Regions from separate parts of the Homo sapiens genome. Here all the other regions are linked to region 1. The links are contacts of gene promoters, found by promoter capture Hi-C in blood cells and fetal thymus (Javierre and others, 2016). All regions are on one chromosome and are shown on one strand. Each heading gives the region's core, a stretch centred on a gene start or on the middle of the fragment in contact. The rest is flanking DNA. Distances are from core to core; before and after follow the strand shown.

Region 1 (4,169 bases), core at 577-3,076:
CCAGTGTGGCCAGATCTTCCAGTGTTCTAAGAGACAACAGAAATCCAGGTTTTTATAGGACTGCACCAGGTTTTAAAAACATATCGGCCAAGCCAGGCTGGTTTTTAAACCAGATATGGTCCACAGGCCATCATTCTAGCCCCTTGGCAGATTGAAGGGAGCTAGTGAAGATTTTTAAGTGAAAAAAGGTATATGATAATATCTGTGCTTCAGAAAAATCAGATTATTGTGTAGAAGATGACTTACAGGAAATAGATGAGAGGAAGGGAAACCAGTTAGGAAACTGTTTCAACAGTTCAGGTGGGAAGTGACTGCGGTCTGTGCTAGGGCGAGGCAGGGGAGAATGTGGGTGGACAGATTTGGAGTCCAGCATCCAGTGGGAAGAATTTAGCTTCAGTGTGCATCTAGAAGACAGACACATTCTTTCAATGCACCCCCTCTTTTCCGCCCCATTTTTTTTTTTTGAGACAGAGTTTCTTTCTGTCACCCAGGCTGGAGTTCATTGGCACGATCTCGGCTCACTGCAACCTCCACCTCCCGGGTTCAAGTGATTCTCCTGCCTCAGCCTCCTGAGTAACTGGGATTACAGACACATGCCACAACACCTGACTGATTTTTGTATATTTTTAGTAGAGATGGGGTTTCACCATGTTGGCAAGGCTGGTCTTGTACTCCTGACCTCAAGTCATCCACCTGCCTCGGCCTCCCAAAGTGCTGGGATTATAGATGTGAGCCACCGCGACTGGCCTCCACCCCATTTTCTTCTTTCTTTCTTTTTTCTTTTTCTTTTTCTTGTTGTTTTGTTTGTTTGTTTGTTTGTTTGTTTTAGACGGAGTCTGGTTCTGTCACCCAGACTGGAGTGCAGTGGCGCAATCTTGGCTCCCTGCAAGCTCTGCCTCCCGGGTTCACGCCATTCTCCTGCCTCAGCCTCCCGAGTAGCTGGGACTACAGGCGCCCGCCACCACGCCTGGCTCATTTTTTTGTATTTTTAGTAGAGACGGGGTTTTACCGTGTTAGCCAGGATGGTCTCCATCTCCTGACCTGGTGATCCGCCCGCCTGGGCCTACCAAAGTGCTTGGATTACAAGCGTGAGCCACCGCGCCCGGCCTCCACCCCATTTTCTAAACTGGAAGCTGAAAGGCACAGGGCAGATTAATAATCCTTAAAGCCAAAGGACAGGAAATTTTAGCAAAGACTCCAATTTTTTGTGCAGTCTAATGTTACTCATGATTGCTTTAGAGATGGACTCCTTAATCAACTCCTCCAATCCTCTTCCGCCCCCAGGGGGCAGTTTTAATTGATGGGCTCAGCACATAATTGAAATTAAAAACGTACATCTCATGGTGTTTGGCTCATTCAACAGCCAATGGAAACTCAGGGCCAAATCTTTGTAAAAGTTCTAGGCTCTGCTTCCCAGCAGAGGGGGAAACCGGCTCCCAAAGAGGCCGTTTTGTGGAGACAGACATATGAGAAGTGGGCTTCAGATCTATTTCATGGTCTTGGTGGTTGTGCAACTGGCCACTTTGGTTCACGGAAGGATGTAAAGGGCAGGGAGGTGGGAATAGAGCGGGGGAAAGGTGACTCCCGTCAAAGAATTTTTCTAACATCCATCAAGTATCGTGATTAGAACTTTTCTCTCCGCAGACTCCTCCAATTTTTGAGCGCGGTATTTTTCGGCACAGGAAATGGCCCGGAGGAGCTGCAGAGCAAAGCCTCCCCTCTCTGGCACCGCATGGGAGTGCCCCGTGGGATGAGGGAGAGGACAAGGCAGTCAGGCAAAGGTTACGGGAGGAAAGCAAAGGCAGGAGCCCAGAACCACTCCAGGAAATGTTTGGATTTCTCCACCAGGAGGGAGGACAAACAAGCTTTCTTCTTGCCTTCTGGGCAGCTTTGTGTGCTCTCCAGCACGGAGTCCGAGGAGGAACAGCGAAGCTGAAAATGAAAATTACTCTGGCGCTGGACCCAATCGCTCCTCTACGGCATCAATCTCATCGGACCCCCCCACCCTACCGCCTCTCAGAAATGACCACTTTTGCAAAATTGCATGCATTTCCAAGCTTCATCCGGCTCCAGGCTTGGCCTCTCCCAGAGGCAGGCGGCTTGTGAGACGGGCTCCAGAGAAAGGACCTCCCTGGGTCTCTCATTTCCTGGCTGAAGTTTCTCTTCTCGCTGCTGTGGCAGCATCCAACCCACACACACAGGACCCGCATCCTGGGTGATGAAGTCAGACACGCAGCAGCTGGGTGAGTGCTAACGCTCAGATAAGCATCTGTGCCATTGTGGGGACTCCCTGGGCTGCTCTGCACCCGGACACTTGCTCTGTCCCCGCCATGTACAACGGGTCGTGCTGCCGCATCGAGGGGGACACCATCTCCCAGGTGATGCCGCCGCTGCTCATTGTGGCCTTTGTGCTGGGCGCACTAGGCAATGGGGTCGCCCTGTGTGGTTTCTGCTTCCACATGAAGACCTGGAAGCCCAGCACTGTTTACCTTTTCAATTTGGCCGTGGCTGATTTCCTCCTTATGATCTGCCTGCCTTTTCGGACAGACTATTACCTCAGACGTAGACACTGGGCTTTTGGGGACATTCCCTGCCGAGTGGGGCTCTTCACGTTGGCCATGAACAGGGCCGGGAGCATCGTGTTCCTTACGGTGGTGGCTGCGGACAGGTATTTCAAAGTGGTCCACCCCCACCACGCGGTGAACACTATCTCCACCCGGGTGGCGGCTGGCATCGTCTGCACCCTGTGGGCCCTGGTCATCCTGGGAACAGTGTATCTTTTGCTGGAGAACCATCTCTGCGTGCAAGAGACGGCCGTCTCCTGTGAGAGCTTCATCATGGAGTCGGCCAATGGCTGGCATGACATCATGTTCCAGCTGGAGTTCTTTATGCCCCTCGGCATCATCTTATTTTGCTCCTTCAAGATTGTTTGGAGCCTGAGGCGGAGGCAGCAGCTGGCCAGACAGGCTCGGATGAAGAAGGCGACCCGGTTCATCATGGTGGTGGCAATTGTGTTCATCACATGCTACCTGCCCAGCGTGTCTGCTAGACTCTATTTCCTCTGGACGGTGCCCTCGAGTGCCTGCGATCCCTCTGTCCATGGGGCCCTGCACATAACCCTCAGCTTCACCTACATGAACAGCATGCTGGATCCCCTGGTGTATTATTTTTCAAGCCCCTCCTTTCCCAAATTCTACAACAAGCTCAAAATCTGCAGTCTGAAACCCAAGCAGCCAGGACACTCAAAAACACAAAGGCCGGAAGAGATGCCAATTTCGAACCTCGGTCGCAGGAGTTGCATCAGTGTGGCAAATAGTTTCCAAAGCCAGTCTGATGGGCAATGGGATCCCCACATTGTTGAGTGGCACTGAACAAGCAGACCAACAACACTGAGGAAGATAGAGTGGTGACTTAGAATTAACTCGTGCTAAGGGGTCGGGGGCTTTGAAAATGCCACCCCCCTTTCTTATTGCAAGACGGCTTCTCGCACATGAACTGCATCCTTCTCATTCTGTCGGAAATGAAATTCACACAACTATACCTTTTGGGGAGGTTCCAGTTGATTGAAGTGAGTTGGCTGCATTTTCTTATCTGATCACAATGGCAGGGGACAGAATGTGCATGGAGTGGAGCATGTGTGTGTTGGGAGGGGGGCTAGGAACTGCACAGCCCTTGTGTAATTTTCGTTGTTTGTTTTTGTTTTGAGACAGAGTCTCACTCTGTGTCCCAGGCTGGAGTGCAGTGGCACAGTCTCGGCTCACTGCAACCTCTGCCTCCCGGGTTCAAGCAATTCTCCTGCCTCAGCCTCCCGAGTAGCTGGGATTAGAGGCGCCAGCCAACACACCCGGCTAATTTTTGTATTTTTAGTAGAGACAGGGTTTTGCCATGTTGGCCAGGCTGGTCTCGAGCTCCTGACCTCAGGTGATCCGCCTGCCTTGGCCTCCCAAAGTGGTGGGATCACAGGCGTGAGCCACCGTGCCTGGCCTCCCCTGTGTCATTTTAAATGGCTAAGTAAATGGGTATATGTGTTTGAATGGGGCATGTTCACTCTCTTAGGGGCTATGGGGCAGTTAGCAGCATTTCCTATCCTCTGACCTTAAATCATTCCTTATCTCAGAAAACAGAAACCGGGCTCAGTCAATCAATGCTTTATTTCAGGCCGAATGAGG
Region 2 (4,166 bases), core at 1,392-3,891, 160 kb after region 1:
CATAAAAATTGGATTTACTTATATTTTACTTAGTGAAAATGTCACCTCTTTAGAATGATCTGGCTCTTCTTGTAATGCCAGTCGTGCCCATATGATGACTCTTTCTGCAGTTTTCTCAGCTTCAGCAGGAGGCAAAGACTTCAACAGAAGGAGACAGTCTTCACCCTATAAACAGGGTTTGAAAGGAAGAAAAAACAGCTGGTATTTGCAAAGGACGGTGTGGCCTTACCTCTTTCTTTTCTATTTAAAGATGAAAATACATCATTTGGAAAAACAGATTATGGTTCAATGTTTTAATAATCCGAAAATCCATTTTTATTTTATTTTACTTTAAGTTTCAGGGTACATGTGCAGGAAGTGCAGGCTTGTTACATGTGCCATGGTGGTTTGCTGTACCCATCAACCTGTCATGCACATTTTAAGCCCTGCATGCATCAGCTATCCATCCTGATGCTGAAAATCCATTTTTGATGACAGCAAACAATAAAATAAATTTAAAATACGATCCTAGATACTGAAGAGTTAATTCCTAGGCATTGCTATGATTATAGAATCATATAAAAATAATGACATTTAAAAACACAACAGGCCAAGCATGGTAGCTCACACCAGTAATCTCAGCACTTTGGGAGGCTAAGGCAGGTGGATTACTTCAGGTTGAGAGTTTGAGACCAGCGTGACCAACATGGTGAAACACAGCCACTGCACTCCAGCCTGGGCAATGGAGCGAGACCCTGTCTCAAAAAACAACAACAACAACACAGAAACAAAGAAGCCATATGAAATGACAACATAAAACTTACAAACCTGTTCTCTATCAATCAGGTCAATAATTCTTAGACTGTAGATCTCATCATCAGATAACATAAACGCTTGGGCTACCTTTAAAGCATCTTCTAAAGAAGATGGGACATCTTGTTTGAGAATGTATCTAACCACTCTCTGCAAAAGACAATATGAACATTTCTTTGTTATAGAACTCACAGAAAACCAAGAAATCACTTGCTTATAAGAGCAAAGTGGCAAAAAAATTTAAATAATGCAGCAAAAAACTAAATTGTATGAAAGATTAAAACATGATTTATATTCTGATCATTCCACAGTCCTGTCTTCTTTCTTCTACAGCTTCTTAATTTACTATTTGGTGTCTTTTTTTTGAGACAGAGTCTCCCTCTGTCGCCAGGCTACAGTGCAGTGGCGCAATCTCGGCTCACTGCAACCTCTGCCTCCCAGGTTCAAGTGATTCTCCTCCCTCAGCCTCCCAAGTAGCTGGGACTACAGGCACATGCCACCACACCCTGCTAATTTTTTTGCATTTTTAGCAGAGACGGAGTTTTACCATGTTGGCCAGAATGGTCTTGATCTCTTGACCTCATGATCCACCCACCTTGGCCTCCCAAAGTGCTGGGATTACGGGTGTGAGCCACCGCACCTGGCCTATTTGGTGTCTTTAATACTCTCATAAAAAGCCCAGGAGCGGTAGCTCACGCCTGTAATCCCAACACTATGGGAGGCCGAGGCAGGCAGATCACCTGAGGTCGGGAGCTCAAGACCAACCAGCCTGACCAACATGGAGAAACCCCATCTCTACTAAAAATACAAAAAAAAAATTAGCCAAGCGTGGTAGTGCATGCCTGTAATCCCAGCTACTCAGGAGGCTGAGGCAGGAAAATCACTTGAACCCAGAAGGCGGAGGTTGTGGTGAGCCGAGATCGCGCCATTGCACTCCAGCCTGGGCGGCAAGAGCGAAACTCCATGTCAAAAAGAATAAATACTCTCATAAATAACTGAACACCTTATTAACATCATATCTAACAAAAGAAATGTAGTGGAAAAACCTAGCTCTATTAGCCTCCTAGAATATAAATTCCTCATTAAGCTTTCCATATTGCCCCAGAAATGAAAGAGAAAAAAGACTCTTCGAAGAGTGTACTTACCATTATTTCCTTGTTTAAGAGATTTACCTCTCTTATTCCATAGCCTCGTAAAAGTTTTTTCATCTCCATTAGTTTGTAACTTTCCTGTAATAACTTGACTCTGAAAGCAAATTTACCCATATTAACATGGATTGTCTTTTTTATGAAGTACTATGGGACACAGCAAACAATATAGAAACATAAATGAACGTCAACTCAAAACACAATGTTTCTCCAGAGCATAACAACATTGTTTCGTAGACAGTCATCTTACTTGGGATGGTCCATTTCCAGGTGCTGTTTCACCAGTTGCTCCACAGCTGCACTCCAAGGAACCACTGCCGCATACATGATCTTGAGCACGGCATCAAATATGAGCTACAAAAGATGCACGCATGGACAAGGAACAGCCCTCAGGTTTACGATGCATGCAAGTGAACAGCACAGTCTAATCAGCAGGTCTTACATCAACCACATGGTAGTTTGAGAATATTTCATCCACTCACTGGAAAACCATTTATTTCTTCAGTTTTCACATATAGAGAACAATTTGACTATTCAGAAAAATTCAGAAGAGTATTTTTTCTGCTGTAAGCTAAGACATACAGCGTTATTGCTTTCTACGGTCTCTACAATCCCTGGGTTTTTTTTGTTTTTTTGAGGCAGGGTCATGTTCCCATTGCCCAGGCTGGAGTGCAGTGGCGCGATCTCAGCTCACTGCAACCTCCACCTCCTGGGTTCAAGCGATTCTCCCACCTCAGGCTCCCAAGTAGCTTGGACTACAGGCAAGCACCACCACACCTGGCTAATTTTTGTATTTTCTGTAGAGATGCGGTTCCACCATGTTGCCCAGGCAGGTCTCAAATTCCTGAGCTCAGGTGATCTGTCTGCCTTGGCTTCCAAAAGTGCTGGGATTACAGGCATGAGCCACTGTGTCCAGCCTCAGTCTCTGGTTTAAAAACAGTTTTCATTATTTTATTTCTATTTTATAGTGGCAATAACAGTGTGAAGTTAAAATAAAGGCATATTACAATATATTAACAAATGTCTCACATTGCAGCGAATAACTGAAAAAGAAAAGTCTCCATGTTTGCATAACCACAGAAAAGCCTGCAAAGATATGCATACAACTGTCCATGGAGGTTCCCCTGGGGGTGGAAATGAGTAAACATTCACTTTTTATTTTCTGTAATTAAAGAAAACAGACACTTTAGGAGAATGAAGCAGGCAGATCACTTGAGCCCAGGTGTTCAAGACCAGCCTGGGAAACCCTGTCTCTACAAAAAATACAAAAATTAGCTGGGCGTAGTGGCACACGCCTATGGTCCTAACTACTCAGGAGGCTGAGGTGGGGATTGCTTGAGCCAGGGAGATTGAGGCTGCAGTGAACCATGATCATGTCACTGCATTCCAGCCTGGGCGACACAGCCAGACCCATCTCAAACAAAAACAAATATATGTCGCTTTTATGAACAGAAAAAAGCTTTCAGAAAAGATTTAATGCTCAAAAGGGAAACGCAAATGGTCACTATTTACTTACGTCCGTGTCAGATAAACACGCTATTACTGCCATGGCCTTTGCTTCCCATGCTGTTTCAAAGAGTGATGTGGACTTTGAGCTGCATCTATTCAGTAAATCCTAAAAAGGGATAAACATGTATGTTTTTTAAAAATTAAAAATTCTCATTAAAAAAATGCCACATACAGCTAGATACAGATATTATATGGCCTTGATAGATGTGTTAAAAGAAAAAAAACCTAAAAATTCTAATTAGTCATAAATGTTGAACAATGGTCTAAAAATACAAAACTGCCAAAACATTAGCCTTTAGTTTTATATGGTATAGAAAATTTAAGAATGAAACATTCTTGAAGAATCTACAAATAAGATTACTGTAGCACATTAATAACATCCACAAGAAATAACTGCTAATATTTATTGAGTTCATGCTCCTGTGGTCTCACAATAGCCCTTTGAAGAAAGTACTGTGAAAGGGAAATATCTTGGGCCCCCAAGATCACTAAGGAAAACTCAGGCTGGAAATTGCTTAGGGCAAACTTGCCTCCCATTCTATCAAAGTTACCCCTCTGCTCACTGAGACAGCTGCATTATCTGATTGCCTCCTTTGGAAAGGCTAATCAGAAACTCAAAAGAATTTTAATGTTTTGTATCACCTATCTGTGACCTGGAAGCTCCCTCTCGCTTGGAGTCTTCCTGCCTTTGCTTCAAGTTGTCCCACCTTTCCAGAT
Region 3 (3,935 bases), core at 113-2,612, 190 kb after region 1:
TTTTTGTACAGACGAGGTTTTGCCATGTTACCCAGACTGGTCTCGAACTCCTGAGCTCAAGCGATTGTCCATCTCTGCCTCCCAAAGTGCTGAGGTTACAGATGTGAGCCACTGCATGCAGCTGGTCAAGAAATATTTACTGAGCACTTACTATATGGTAAACTTTGTTCTAGGCCTTTTACATATATCTGAGAACAGTAACAAAAGATTACCACCGTCACAGAGCTCATATTCTAAGACAGAAATAGCTGATAAATGACCAGGCGTGGTGGCTCACACCTGTAACCCCAGCACTTTGGGAGGCCGAAGCAGGCAGATCACTTGAGGTCAGGAGTTCGAGACCAGCCTGGCCAACATGGTGAAACTCCGTCTCTACTAAAAATATAAAATTAGCCGGACATGGTGGCATGTGCCTGTAATCCAGTCTACTCAGGAGGCTGAGACAGGAGAATCGCTTGAACCCAGGAGGTGGAGGCTGCAGTGAGCTGAAATCACGCCACTGCACTCCAGCCTAGGCAACAGAGCCAGACTCCGTCTCAAAAAAAAAAAAAAATAGCTGATAAACAATTAGCATAATAAACAAACTGTGAGACATGTAAGAAGGTGATAGATGTTCTGGGGAAAAAAATGTAGAGCCAGGTAAGAGAGCTCAGAAGAATGGTGCATTTTGCAGTGTTAATTAGAAAGCTCACAGGAGACATGAAAGAGGTGAGGAAGTTAGCCAAATGACTAAGATGAAGAGCATTCCGAGCATTCAGATGGTGGACACAGCTCAAGGAAAGATCATGGAGTGGGAAGTGCCTGTTGTATTCATGCAAAAGCAAGAAGGCCAAGGTAACAGAAAACAAAGCAAAGAGGGAAGGGACAAGACAGAAAAACAATAGTATGTAACTGGCTTACGAACTCAAGTTATTCCGCCACAATGTCTTTTCACAAATGGATCATCGTTACTCATCCCACCACTTAATAGAAGAAACTGTGAATCTTGTGGACCAATCAGGGTCAATACGTCAAGGTTCCATAAAACACAAGTTTCTTGCCTCCATGTTGCAATCAAGATATGTTCCAAAATGCATGTGTTCTGTTTCCTTTTCAGTTGTCTAAGTTCTTATGTAAAAGTTTCAACAACTATCTTTCTCTTAAAATTTCTATTTAATGGCCGGGTGCAGTGGCTCACGCCTGTAATCCCAGCACTTTGGGAGGCCAAGGTGGGTGGATCATTTGAGGTCAGGAATTTGAGAGCAGCCTGGCCAACATGGTGAAACCTGACCCTACTAAAAATACAAAAATTACCAGGCATGGTGGCAGGCGCCTGTACTCCCAGCTACTTGGGAGGCTGAGGCAGAAGAATCTCTTGAACCTGGGAGGTGGAGGTTGCAGTGAGCTGAGAGAGCACCACTGCACTCCAGCCTGGGCCACAGAGCGAGACTGTCTCAGGGAAAAAAAAAAAAAAGGCCTGGCACGGTGGCTCACGTCTGTAATCCCAACACTTCAGGAGGCCGAGGCGGGCAGATCATGAGGTTGAGACCAGCCTGGCCAACATAGTGAAACCCTGTTTCTTCTAAAAATACAAAAAAAGATTAGCAGGGCGTGGTGATGGGTGCCTGTAGTCCCAGATACTTGGGAGGCTGAGGCAGGAGAATTGCTTGGACCCTGGAGGCGGAGGTTGCAGTGAGCTGACATCATGCCACCACACTCCGGCCTAGGCGACAGTGCGAGACTACATCTCAAAAAAAAAAAAAATTTCTACTCAAGAAAGAAAAAACTTTCGGGGTCGGGTGTCGTGGCTCATGCCTATAATCCCAGCACTTTGGGAGGCCGAGGCAGGCAGATCACAAGGTCAGGAGATCGAGACCATCCTGGCTAACATGGTGAAATGCTGTCTCTACTAAAAAAAAAAAAAAATACAAAAAATTGCCCAGGCATGGTGGTGGGCGCCTGTAGTCCCAGCTATTCAGGAGGCTGAGGCAGGAGAATGGTGTGAACCCGGGAGGCAGAGCTTGCAGTGAGCCGAGATTGTGCCACTGCACTACAGCCTGGGTGACAGAGCGAGAGAGACTCCATCTCAAAAAAAAAAAAAAAAAACTTTCATAATATTCTTGCCTAAGCTCAGTACAATCACTGACTTACCCCTTAATTCACTCTTTTTTTTGTTTTTGAGACACGACTGTCACTCTGTCACTCAGGCTAGAGTATAGTGGCATAATCTTGGCTCACTGCAACCTCTGCCTCCTGGGATCAAGCGATTCTCCTGCCTCAGACTCCTGAGTAGCTGGGATTACAGGTGTATGCCACCATGCCCAGCTAATTTTTGTTGTTGTTGTTGTTTTTGGAGACAGAGTTTTGCTCTGTCACCCAGGCTGGAGTGTAGTGGAGTGATCTTGGCTCACTGCAACCTCCACCTCCCAGGTTCAAGCAATTCTCCTACCTCAGCCTCCCGAGTAGCTGGAACTATAGGCGCACACCAGCACGGCCAGCTAATTTTTGTATATTAGTAGAGAAAACGGGATTTCACCATGTTGCCCAGGCTGGTCTCAAACCCCTGAGCTCAGGCAATCCACCCACCTGGGCCTTCCAAAGTACAAGGATTACAGGTGTGATTTTTGTATTTTTAGTAGAAATGGGGTTTCACCATGTTGGCCAGGCTGGTCTTGAACTCCTGACCGCAAGTGATCTGGTGGCCTCAGCCTCCCAAAGTGCTGGGATTGCAGGCATGAGCCACCACGCCCAGCTTTAATTCACTCTCAAATCCACATTTGCATGTACTTGAAGCCTTGTAGCTCGATGAAGAATTAATTCATAAGTATGTTAAAGGATTTTTAGAGAGCTATTAATTCTAAAAATATGCAAATACCCATTAATGATACCGAAATTCTGTACAAGATTCAGGAATTTGAACACAAATGAGCTCATGTTTTCCATAGTATTCTAATACAAGCAAGTAAACTAAGTTGTTGCTTTACATGTGTATTTCCCCTCAGATGTATTGAGAGAAGGGATCATCTCAGTGTCCTTTGACTCTAGTGCCCAACGCAAATAAGGCACTAAGCACTCAAGCTTAATTACTTGAAATTGGTCTAATTTGAAATCTTAGAAATAATGGAGTAAAGAGGAGGCAATCCAGCAGAAATTGGCAGCAGATGTATTTGACTTCCAATTTATCTTACTTCATTCACTACATTATACTTACCAAAGACAAGATGCAATTGAAGTGATCTACAAATACTGTCAAGCAATATCACTGATTGGTCGGCTACAATAATAAACCCATCACTTAAGCTGCATGCCTGTATCTTTGGATTTAATGAGGCCTGTGGGAGAGAAAAGCATGATGAAAATTCAAACATTTTTATATGTGTTTAATAATACTTATCAATAGTATCATCAAATTCCCAAATATCCCACTTTAAAACTTGACAGGCTTTTTTTCTTTAGCCCCTCTATCTAATTAATCATCGAGTTTTTCTTTGTATGGTATATCTTGAATCCATCCAGGATCCTAAGTAGAAAAACAGTTCAGGATGAGCAGGAAGGGCAAAGGATTCTCATGTTCAAGTCCTTGTTTCCTCAGGATTGACTTTATGCTGCAGGAGCCAGGTATTAACATAATGAATTAATCAAGATTGGAATAAAGTCTTGGTGTCGTGGATACGCTAGGCAGGGGAACGGTGGTGAACTGTGAACTGGAGGGTCCATGCCCCCACAGACATGAAAGAATAGAGTCTACTTCACACCAGCCAGTGGGAAGCCTGGTGGGGATGCAGCACTGGCATGGCCATACCTCCCAATTCATCAACAGAAGCTGGATCTTTATGTGAAATGTTCTGATTTTTAAATATTGGCAGCTAAGCCAACATTTTTAAAAACAGTAGACAAGCCAAATCAGAGTCTCCAGTATTCAGTTTCTGTTGCCAAGAGCCTCCCACACATAGCTG

What was found. Contacts are between HindIII fragments. The CHiCAGO score rates a contact against its expected background, and 5 or more counts as called.
Region 2: a fragment that was not itself captured here is called in contact with the fragment with the promoter of HCAR1 in region 1 in 1 of 17 cell types (endothelial precursors); the score reaches 5.2 in endothelial precursors.
Region 3: a fragment that was not itself captured here is called in contact with the fragment with the promoter of HCAR1 in region 1 in 1 of 17 cell types (endothelial precursors); the score reaches 5.9 in endothelial precursors.

What each region holds. Positions count from the first base shown.
Region 1 is chr12:122,728,501-122,732,669 of GRCh38, reverse strand. HCAR1 (hydroxycarboxylic acid receptor 1) reads left to right here and starts at 1,826. Exons shown (of 1, transcript NM_032554.4): 1 at 1,826-4,169. The coding sequence starts at 2,331. The coding sequence ends at 3,371. RefSeq lists an enhancer at 2,397-3,064. The HindIII fragment of the contact is 4,369 bases long and covers 1-1,867 here.
Region 2 is chr12:122,573,671-122,577,836 of GRCh38, reverse strand. KNTC1 (kinetochore associated 1) reads right to left here. Exons shown (of 64, transcript NM_014708.6): 27 at 3,457-3,555; 28 at 2,191-2,294; 29 at 1,938-2,037; 30 at 808-942; 31 at 46-165. Among named protein-coding and RNA genes, the nearest start is that of KNTC1, 49 kb to the right of the region's middle. The HindIII fragment of the contact is 1,520 bases long and covers 1,882-3,401 here.
Region 3 is chr12:122,534,040-122,537,974 of GRCh38, reverse strand. It overlaps KNTC1 (kinetochore associated 1), which reads right to left. Exons shown (of 64, transcript NM_014708.6): 3 at 3,191-3,311. Among named protein-coding and RNA genes, the nearest start is that of KNTC1, 8.8 kb to the right of the region's middle. The HindIII fragment of the contact is 3,394 bases long and covers 1-3,059 here.